Regions from separate parts of the Homo sapiens genome. Here regions 1 and 3 are each linked to region 2. The links are contacts of gene promoters, found by promoter capture Hi-C in blood cells and fetal thymus (Javierre and others, 2016). All regions are on one chromosome and are shown on one strand. The core of a region is centred on a gene start or on the middle of the fragment in contact, and the rest is flanking DNA. Distances in the headings are between cores, read along the strand shown.

What was found. Contacts are between HindIII fragments. The CHiCAGO score rates a contact against its expected background, and 5 or more counts as called.
Region 1: a fragment that was not itself captured here is called in contact with the fragment with the promoter of LINC01547 in region 2 in 4 of 17 cell types (naive CD8 T cells, M1 macrophages, M2 macrophages and 1 more); the score reaches 5.8 in naive CD8 T cells.
Region 3: a fragment that was not itself captured here is called in contact with the fragment with the promoter of LINC01547 in region 2 in 2 of 17 cell types (M0 macrophages and M1 macrophages); the score reaches 5.4 in M0 macrophages.

Annotation. Positions count from the first base shown.
Region 1 is chr21:45,118,894-45,122,385 of GRCh38, reverse strand. The region is part of intron 1 of ADARB1 (adenosine deaminase RNA specific B1); the gene reads right to left. Among named protein-coding and RNA genes, the nearest start is that of ADARB1, 46 kb to the right of the region's middle. The HindIII fragment of the contact is 1,189 bases long and covers 1,207-2,395 here.
Region 2 is chr21:44,938,556-44,942,104 of GRCh38, reverse strand. It overlaps LINC01547 (long intergenic non-protein coding RNA 1547), which reads left to right and starts at 2,192. Exons shown (of 4, transcript NR_027128.1): 1 at 2,192-2,512. It overlaps SLX9 (SLX9 ribosome biogenesis factor), which reads right to left and starts at 2,076. Exons shown (of 6, transcript NM_058190.4): 1 at 1,919-2,076. The coding sequence starts at 2,047. RefSeq lists enhancers at 1,482-1,561, 1,592-1,641, 1,826-2,390 and a silencer at 1,732-2,251. The HindIII fragment of the contact is 6,939 bases long and covers 1-3,549 here.
Region 3 is chr21:45,099,252-45,102,773 of GRCh38, reverse strand. All of the region lies in intron 1 of ADARB1 (adenosine deaminase RNA specific B1), which reads right to left. Among named protein-coding and RNA genes, the nearest start is that of ADARB1, 26 kb to the right of the region's middle. The HindIII fragment of the contact is 1,685 bases long and covers 1,045-2,729 here.

The DNA.
Region 1 (3,492 bases), core at 552-3,051, 180 kb before region 2:
TTGTACCAACAGCAAGTACACTGCAAGTTGTATTAAAACACATTTATCATTCACAGCACTTGATGGATTTGCTGTGCCAGTAATAATCATATTGATTAAACGAAGCAACTGTTTCCTTTTAAAGTGATATTTATCATTATAATTTAATTAGACTGTGGAAATTGAGGCTCTGCTCTGCCAAAAACTAAGTACTCTCATTTTCTACCTCGCATAAAGCCAAGACTATGCACGCGTGTGCAGTTAAACACATATGGGCAACTGATGAGATTTCACTGTTTCGAGACAGTAATTACTGCAGCAAGTACAGAGGCATGATATGCTCGTGGCAAGTAAAGTACAGGTCAAGAGAAAGTAATCAACTGGAGGCTGCTACGGCAAAGAAGCCTTCTTCCTAATTTTTGACAGTAGCTGCCATTTGAAGTGCTTTATTAGTCCTAAGAATTAGTAGCAACAATGGGGAACAAAAAGTTGATGGCCCGAGAGGAGGGGATACAGCTGGGAAAACAGCCTTGAACATGCTGGAAAAGTCAAACACACCATATACGTACAGAAAACAACGGCTAAAGGAGATACAAACAGTTAGTAAACAGGTAAACTAAGAATGACCAATTGGACTTGGCAGGACAGGGAAGCAGAGAGACCCTCCAGAAATAATAGCTATAATGACTAACGCTAAAAGCTCAGTGGACAGGTTTTAGCAGCATATTAGACACAGTTAAAGAGAAAATGGCCAAACTGGGCAGTAGAACCGAAGCAATAACCCAGAAAGCAGTGCAGAGACACACGAGAGACAGAAAGTACCAAAAGCATGGGAGCTCTCACAGAAACAGATTCGGCCAACTAACCCGCAGCAGAATAAATACAAATAAGCATGAACCCAGACACAGCACAGAGAAATGATGCGGGAGCACAGGGGGACAGTCAGGCTGAGAGCGGATGCCCAGGGCCCAGGGAAGAGACCAGTAGTGGAGCAGGATGAGATCTTCAATGTGCAGACGGGAAAGTAAACTCCCCACCTAACAACAGTCTTTCCACAATAAGAATAAAGATGTTTTCACACAAATCACACCTGAGATAGTTAATCCTAAGGGACACATTCCAGAAGAACTGTGCTCTTGTAGAGAAAGAATATGTAGCAAAAAAGAGTGGCTATAAAAGGAAGCAGCATGTGAAAGCACTGGCTGAATAAAGGAAAAGCACAAAGCTTACACATACCGTTCCAGCGAACAAAAAAACAGGGAACATCCCCCACTCGTTTTACGAGCCCAGTATAATCTCGGTAGTAAAATCTGTCAAGAATGTGCCAGACATGAACTATCAGCGGCTTTTACAAATGTAGACACAAAAATCATAACAAAATTAGCATATTTAAATCCAGGGACATATAAAAGACAGTAGGTCACACCTGAGTTGAATACACACATACCAAGAATACACAGCTGGCTTCAGATGTGAGAATCGATCAACGCACTGAACAGCGACATTTCTATTCAAGGGTTCTTTAACTTAGATTTCTCAATCATTCAAACTGGTATTTTTGTAAATTTCCATTAGTAGAATAAACCTCACGCTGTTCTCAAAATATACACTACCTGTGGAAGATAAAAAAATGGAGGATAAAGAAAGCTGATAAAATGAAAACAAACATTGTCGCCAATAATGAAAGTAAAGGCCCAGCACACACAGCTTCTCCACATTCCTGCCCTTGCTGGAGGAAGACAATAAGCTCGGAAGTTGCCCCCAGAGCAATGCGGTGGCAGGGGTGGTGTCCTCAGAGGGTCCTAGTGTGTCCGTGATAAGGCCATCATGAACAGAACCAAAGAAGGCAAAAGGGAGACATCTGGCCTTCGCAGGCTTCCTTAGAGTGTTTTCCACACCTGTGAGGATCCTGAGCGAGTGCCAGGAGGAGACGGAAGAAGTGCAGCTTCACACTCCTCTCCAGAGCAGGCATTCAATCGACAGTTCACGAATGGGCTTCAGGAAGACAATGAGAAGTGTGAAATCATATATGAAATGATGCGTTCATATGCACAGATGAATTTTTCTAACGAAAATGTAAATGGATTTAATCAGATATTCAAAAGAACCCAATACCCCACAAGTGTGCCAACATCTGACATGCAAACTTGTCCGTGCGGTAGAGGCCAAAGACAGCCCTCACCATGGGCTGTGAGATGACCCAAAACCCAATCCTTTCTTTGGCACTTCACCAACAAAATTTCATAGCCTTTCTTTTCTCAGTGCAACTAAGGGCTAGTCCATGGTAACCTACGAAGTGAATTATTACGGGGCACTAAAATTTAAGATTTATAACCTAAACCTGAGGTGTTACTAGGCTTTATAGAGGTCTAGTTCAGTATCAAGAAGGGAGGCTCCTGTGCAGAGCTGCAAAGCTTGGTAATGCGCCCACGTGGGGGCCACAAAGTCCTCATCCTCAGAAACAGCATTTCGTGCGTTACCAATGACAGCTTTATTTATAATGGATTTCAATTACCAACACTCTTGCTTTTATCATTTCGATGTCCATTTTCTCATGTTCACAGCAGTTTAATGTGGGCTGTCTGGGTATATACCACGATGACAATTCATAGTTTCAGGAGCCATGATTTTTCAACAACTTATAAGTACCCTAAGTCATCTCCGTCTTTATTTCGAAACAGATGTATAGAACCTCCTCTAAATTCTGATGCAGCAGTAACATTTTATTTGTTGGTGATGTGCTGATTAAGAGTATATGAAATTTAACTAACTTGCAACACACCATCAAGGCAAGTGTAACAAAGTTACCCAGCTATTTTTAAGTTTATGGCCACACTCTTACATAGTAAAGAACAACACGTCTCATAAGAACTTCTGTATCAAAAGTACCTAAACTGGTTCATTTAATTTCATCCCGATTCTTTGATAATGTTGAGTGATATTTCCACTGGAGAGCAAGAACAGCTACTGGTAAAGGTGACCAAGGCACTAATTTTGCCACTGAGAGTGATCTAAAAAGGCTTTTAGGCTAGGCACAGTGGTGTGCTCAGCACTTTGGGAGGCCAAGGTGGGAGGATGGCTTGAGCCTAGGAGTTCGAGACCAGTCTGGGCAACACGGCAAGACCCCACCTCTACAAAAAATTTAAAAATTAATCAGTCAATGTGGCACGTGACTGTGGTCCAAGCTACTCAAGAGGCTGATAACAGGAGTATTGCTTGAGCCCAGAAGGTGGAGGCTGCAGTGAGCCACGATCACACTACTGCACTTCACCCTGGGTGACAGAGCGAGACCCTGCCTCTAAATTAATTAATTAAAAGGGCTTTTAATTAAAAATGGTGATAAAGTACACCATATCTTCTCTCCATTCTTCCCAGAGCTCTGTTAAAATGTCAGAAAAGGTACTTTTTGGTGGTGAATGAACCATAATAGTGCACGGTGCTAAAAATTTACAGAGGGATTTAGCAGAACACAAGAAAGCCTGCCAGGGCTTTTAGGGCATAAGGCAGACGAAA
Region 2 (3,549 bases), core at 943-3,442:
TGGAGCTTAATAAAAAAATGCTGGCACAGGTTTCAATGAGCCAAGACAACTAAAGGCACGCCCCTCTCCTGCTAGTAGAGAGAGATGTCACCTGAGAAGCTGAAGCTGCTCCTGCCCCATCTCTGGTGTCCTGACACGGAGCTCTTGCCCAGGAGCGGTAGGCTGCAAAAAGGAAGAACTCCATAGCTCTGCCAGAAGGGACTCGCCTTGTCTGCAGCTCGTGTGAGGGCTCTCACGCCTAAGGGTGTTGCTGACCAGGAAGGAGCTCTGGGTGGTGACAGATGCAGAGGGCAGGGTGCCCAAGGCTCCTGGGTAGACAGTAAGCCCCTCTGACCCAGGAACAACTCCCAGGAGGTCGCATCCCTGGCAGTCTGGAGGCTGTGCGCATGTTCAAGGACGCACCCTACCAGGAGTGAGCAGAGGGACTCTGTAAGCTACTAGTCCTTGGCTGTGCCTCTGAGGGCAGAAATGAAGGTCAAAAATGTGAACACGCTGAATCTGACAGCCACCTCCAAGCCAGAGGTATCCAGTGGTAAAAGGCAAAAACCCCCTGGCCAAGGAGGCTTTAAGAACAATTGCTGACCAGTGAGGAGCTTAAGCAGATCCAACTAGCCAGGCTAAAAGAGAAAAACAGGAAGAAAAAAAAAAAACCAAGGGGGCACATCAGAGGCTGCACACAGCCAGAAGGGGACAAGGAGAGAGGTCACATAGTTCAGTTCCAGATCAATAAACAAAGTAATCAAGCAGATACTAATCCCTGGTTGCTACAGGACTATCCAAAATGCCCAATTTTCCACAAAAAGTGATACATTCAAAGAAGGCCCACCTGCTCCTACCTGCCAGCATGAGCCAGGCAACAGAAACTGCTTTGAGCAGCCCACATGTAAAGAATTCAGAGTAGGCATTATAAATATTTCTAAGGACTAAAAGAGACCGTGTCTAAAGAACTAAACGAAGGTATAATGACATTCTCACATCAAACAGAAAACATCAGTAAAGAGTATTTTTTAAAATGAGGAGGAACAGGAGAAGAGAAAGAAAGTAAATAAATTCTGGAGTCAAAAAAAATGAAAATTTCACTGGAAAGGTTCAAAAGCACCTCTGGGCTGGCAGAACATCAGTAAACTTGAATTAAGATAGATTATGCCATCTGAAGAAAAGAGAAAAACTGAGTGAACAGCGCCTCAGAGCACTGTGGGACACCATTAAGCACGACGTACATATTTATAATGGAAGTATCCGAAAGAGAGGAGTGACAGAAAGGGGCAGAAAAAAATATTCAAGGAAATAATGGCTGAAGACTTGCCAATGTAACGAAAAACATTAACCTACACACGCAAGAAGCTCAGTGAACACGCAAAATAAATGCAGATACCTACACCAAGACACATCGGTCAAAATATTTAAGGCAAAAGCCAAAAAAAAAAAAAAATCCTGAAAGCAATAATTCCACTCACATGCAGTGTCTAGAATAAAGACAAAAGGTAGATTCGTGCTTGCTTAGGGCTGAGGGGGATGGAGAAACAGGCCAGCCGACTGCTAAAGGGAACGGGGTCTCTCTTCAGTTTGCTCTCCGTTCTTCTCTAACTCTGGGAACGTCCTTTCCTTTCCGGGGAGCTCAGTGCGATTCAGGAACCTCTGGGGTCCGCGTGGCAACCCTGGACCGCAGCGGGAGGTTCCTGGCTCTCTCCCCTCCCCGGGAGCGGCGCGAGTCCGTGTGCCCAGGACGGCAGCGCAGAGCGGAGCCTCGGAGTTTACGACGCTTCGCGAAGCAAGAAGGTCGCGTCTGTAGCGCAGCAAATGCCCGCAGAGCCCGAGGGAAGGCCGGGGTCGCGGAACCCTCCCGGAGGCGGCGCCCCGCAGCTCACCCGCCCTCGGACCCACGCGGCAGCCCCCGGCCAGCGCCTCCCCAGCTCACCTTCCCCGCGGCCGAGGCCGGCGGAGGGGTCGCCTCCGGGGCAGGGGGCGCGGGGCCGGGGGCGGCCTCCCCTTTCGGCCTCACGGCAGCCTGGTGCACTCGGGCGCGCAACCCCCTCACTTTCCCCATCTTCCCGGCGGAGCACGGCAAACGTGCGGAGCGCCTCCCGGAAGCTGGTCCTGCGTTCTCGCCGCCCGGCGGAAACAGGAGCCGCGGCTGCCGGGAGCCCCGCGGCCGCCGGAAGTACCCGGAAGCGGCTCGGGCGGGCGCAGGGTCGCGGGTGTAGGGTGGCGGCGCTCCGCCTTTCACCGACGCACCTGGGAGAAACAGACCGGAGGACGCGGGTGGCGCGGAGCACGAGAAACAACGAGTTTCTGTCTAGATCGTGGGGGACCCAAGCCCGGGGTTGCGTCCAAGGTCGGGGATGGAGAGGACGCGACCCCCGCGGCAGTCGAGATGGCCTTTTTAAAATTCTATATTTGAGAAGGAGTCTCGCGCTGTCGCCCAGGCTGGAGCGCAATGGCGCGAAATCGGCTCATTGCAGCCTCGACGTCCAGGACTCGAGCGATCCTCCCGCCTCAGCCTCTCGAGAAGGTGGGACCACCGGTGGGCACCGCCACGCCCGGCTAATTTTTATTAATGTTTTGCTAGAGCCGGGATCTTGCTGTGTTGTCTGGCTGGTCTTAAACTCCTGGGCTCCAGCGATCCTCCCTCCTCGGCCTCCCAAAGCGCTGGGATTACAGGCATGAGCCACACTGCGCCTGGCCAAGCTAGTGCATTTTAATTGACCTTCACTTCATGTCAATTTATTTTTTACACTATTCCATTTAGTCCTCAGAACAGTTCTTTAGAATTGGGTATTGCTCCGTTTACGTGGGAAACATAGCAGCGAGGTAACGGGCTGGGTCCCGTGCTGGGAACGGGAGCCCTGCTCATCTGACTGCTTGCACCCTGTGCTGTCTATGCTGGGCGTACTGGGGGGCGTTAGGGAAGAGACCACAGGTACGATGCAATGCCTGTCCTCAAGGAGCCCATTGTTCTCATGGGAACACAAAGCTGACACATCGAGAACAAACTATGGAACAGGCTGTGGCTGAGGGCCATGAAGGAAGGCTGCCAAGTCCGGGCCCAGCCAGGTAGCAGCCACACCTCTATCTACCCTGCTCCCCAACACTGGGCACCAGCACTCACCTGCCCAGGACCCACAGTGAAAACCCACCCACAAAAAATGCACTTTGGAGAAGAGTAGCAGGTCCCAGGCAGAGCCAGGGCCACCTCTCAGAAAGGACATCAAGTTTCTCGCCCAGCTGAGAGATGGACAGATGACCGCACAAGCCACTCACAGCCCAAGGTGATGGACTCTAGGATATATTCAAGGCTGAGCAACTGGCTTGAAGTCGTGTCTACTTACATATTCAAAGACCTAGTGAGCATTCACAAGTCATTCTTTTTACCCTCCAACTAGCCGTGTTCTCAACCAGTCTACCTAGGAATGCTGTTGGCTGTGAAAACTCCAGAGGCTGGTATCTTTAGAGTTCCTTCAGGGTGCATTCAGCATCTGAGCCTAGCGACTCTTGAGGTGAAAGTGCTCACGTTTTTTTTTTGGTGAGAGAGTCTCACTCTGTCGCCCA
Region 3 (3,522 bases), core at 638-3,137, 160 kb before region 2:
AAAAGGAGCTTTGTCTTTTCTCCTCATTTATCAGTCATTTATTTATGTCAGTCTGGACTCATGGATATTTATTTATCTCTGGGCTATAATCCAATACTACTTTGTTTTGTTGTAGAAACTGTTCCAGCTTTGGCCACTGGGAGCTCTTTCAGTTGGCTCCTGGGTCCCTTTGACACCACCCATTGATGTGGGTGTGGTTATGTTTGTTTCTCGGCATTTCCTTGCCATTTCCTTGGCATTCCTGGCACTTGTGTTATTTCCTGCCCAGTCCTAGAATCAGCTATTTCTCCAATAAAGAATGCTCACTCTATTTTTTATATGCTGTTTTATGGAACATGCAGCTACATGTTTAAAAAATATAGTTGTGGTTACAGCTGGTTTTGCTGACTTGAATCCATCCCCTTCTTTCTGACAACAGCACCCCAAATGTGCTGAGGAAAGTGCCTTCTCCCATTGAACTGCCTGCGTAATTACTTCCAAGAAATCAAAAATTATTTTAAACCCTTGTGCTGATAACAGACAGACACCAAGGTAAGGAAGATAATTATAGAAATTCTGATTTAGAATTAAAATAAGCACATTGGCCAGGCATGGTGGCTCACATCTGTAATCCCAGCAACTTGGGAGGCCGAAGAGGGAGGATCGCTTGACGCCAGGAGTTCAAGTCTAGCCTGGGCAACACAGCAAGACTCCGTCTCTACAAAAAATAAAAAAAGTTAGCTGGGTGTGGTAGTGCGCCTGTAGCCCCACAGTCCCAGCTACTCAGGAGGCTGAGGTGGGAGGATCACTTGAGCCTGGAAGTTGAGGCTGCAGTGAACCATGATTACCACTGCACTCCAGCCTGAGTAACAGAGTGAGACCCTGTCCCAAATAAATAAATAAGCACAAAATATGTTCACTTTAAAATAAACCATGTCTGGCAAAAGTATGTCCACCACTGTAACTACTGACCCCTTACACAATTTTAAGCAGCACTCATCTCCCACGTAATAGTCAGCAAGACTGGTGTGCTAACATACCCAGCATTCAAAAACTCCAAAAGCTTGTGTATTAAGTATACACTATCCAGAAAATTTCACATGCTTTCTGCTTCAGGAAAGAAATATTAAAGCTCTACGATGGTGAAGTTCATTACAATTTCCAAAAGCAAAAGGATCACTGATTACTTAAGAAGCAACGCTTCCTTTAAACTCCAGTACAGGAGGTAAATGTTAAACGCTAGCAAATCTTTTGAGAAGCATTAAAAAAGGTTTTCGTTACATCACAGGTATACTTAATCATAACGTCAAAGCCTCTAAAACAAAAACTCTGTGCACGCACTTCAGGAGTTTTTCCCACGTGCCGCGAAAGAAGGGAGCCTAGGTGTCTGGAGAGATCCTCTGCACCCAGCACTCGGCGACTGGCAGCGGGCATTTCAGCACCTGCTAAAGCCCGCTGGGCAGCTTGGCAGCGCCAGGCGCGGGGCTGCGGGGACACGGCCCGCCCGCGCGCAGGGCACAGCGAGCACGTGAGCGCAGAGCCAGCTCCGGAGCGCTACGGCGCGCGTGGCGGCACACCTGCTCCCCGAGGCTGATCGTTAACAGCCGTGGGCAGGGGTTGGGCCAGGGTACAGCTGTCAGGACCTCACTGGACAGGACCGGAGAGGACCCCGCGTAACCGCGGAACAGACACTCCCGGCAGCGGCCGCCGCCGCGGCACTGCTACGGGACGAGCCGGAGCGCTTGGCCATGGCGGCCCGATCCGCACTGGCGCTGCTGCTGCTGCTGCCAGTCCTGCTCCTGCCGGTGCAGAGCCGCTCAGAGCCCGAGACCACCGCGCCCACCCCTACCCCAATCCCGGGTGGCAACTCGTCAGTGAGCAGGCCCCTGCCCAGCATCGAGCTCCACGCCTGCGGCCCATACCCCAAACCAGGCCTGCTCATCCTGCTGGCCCCGCTGGCCCTGTGGCCCATTCTCCTGTAGGGACGCCCAGCCAGCCACCTCTAAGTCGCCGCTGGGACTGGCCTGCCCCATTGAGCAACAGAGACGCTTGACAGCCGCCCGCCTCCATTCCTTGACTTCACCCAGAAATGGGTCCAGAAAACTGAATCCCACCAGCACTGGTTTGGAGCAACCGGACACCGAGGTTTCACCTCCAGGGATTCCATGAAGAGCCTCAATGGAGATGCCACATCCTACTGAGTTAAAGATGGGCTGAGGAACTTGGGTACCCACAAGTCTGCCTTGGGAATCAAAAGAAAATATTTACCTTTAGTTTGGTTCATTAAATGCATGAAGTCAAAATATGACCAGGTAGTGTGCGAGGCCTCCTTGTTCTGGGTAGAGCTGGGAAGGGCAGGGATGGCAAGCGCTCCCTAAGTCTGCCACCTGTAGCCTTGCAGAGTTCTCTAGGAAATGCACTGCTGCTCTGGTGTTCAGTGCAATGCAGTATTTGACTTGGGAACAGTGACTGACGGGGGCCAGTGCAAGCCTAGTTAGTAAGCCCAGCCTGTCTACTCCACTCTCACCCACACATCCCCATTCTTCCAAAGAACCTTGTAGCTATCATTTCAACCTAGTTCCAAAGAGCAGACATACATAATCTCACATAACCTGCAATGCTGCTTTTTAAATTTCTGTATATGTTGAATAATTTTTACAAGTTAAAAGTGACCTTTTTAAACATATATTTTTAAATCTTTAACACGGGGGGAGAAAAAGGAAAGTTTTGGAAAGGGAAGACTAGAAGCTTGGCTGGTTCAGTTCACACAAGTTTTACACTATTTCTATCCATGTGTTATCTTTATAAATCCACATTTGGAATACTTCCCATATAAATATCTTTAGATAGAAACTGAGACTAAGCCTTGAGTAGCTTCTGGAAAGTAACCCCAACACCACCACCAAGTTGCACACACACCAATGTCCAGCATCTAGGAGGGCTTCAGGGCCCCCACAGCCCAAGACGTGCCAGCCCAAGAGAGCACTCCCAGAAACTCCAGATCCAGCCAGCCTCAGAACAGCATGTGAACACTTCACACGGGCTTACTGTGCATGTTTTGGATTGAGCCTTGTGTTCAGTAATTATGCTTGGATTTACATAACTTAAAATGACATATTTTAACATAAATTGTAAATTTTTATTTTTTATTTTTTTGAGACAGAGTCTCGCTCTGTCACCCAGGCTGGAGTGGTCCCCTCCCAAGGTTCAAGTGATTCTCATGTATCAGCCTCCTGCTCGCTGGGATCACAGGTGTGCGCCACCACACCCAGCTAATTTTTTTTGTACTTTTAGTAGAGATAGGGTTTCACCATGTTGGCCAGGCTGGTCTCAAACTCCTGACCTCAAGTGATCCACCCGCCTCGGCCTCCCAAAGCGCTGGGATTACAGGCGTGAGCCACCCACCGCGCCCAGCCTGTAAATTATTTTTTTAAAAAGGCTTGCAGAGCAATCCGAAGACCCTAATTTAACAGGCTGTATACTAGGCACTGAAGGATGATCAACTATAGCTTCATTAAAGGAATAATGAAATTGCTGCTCTCC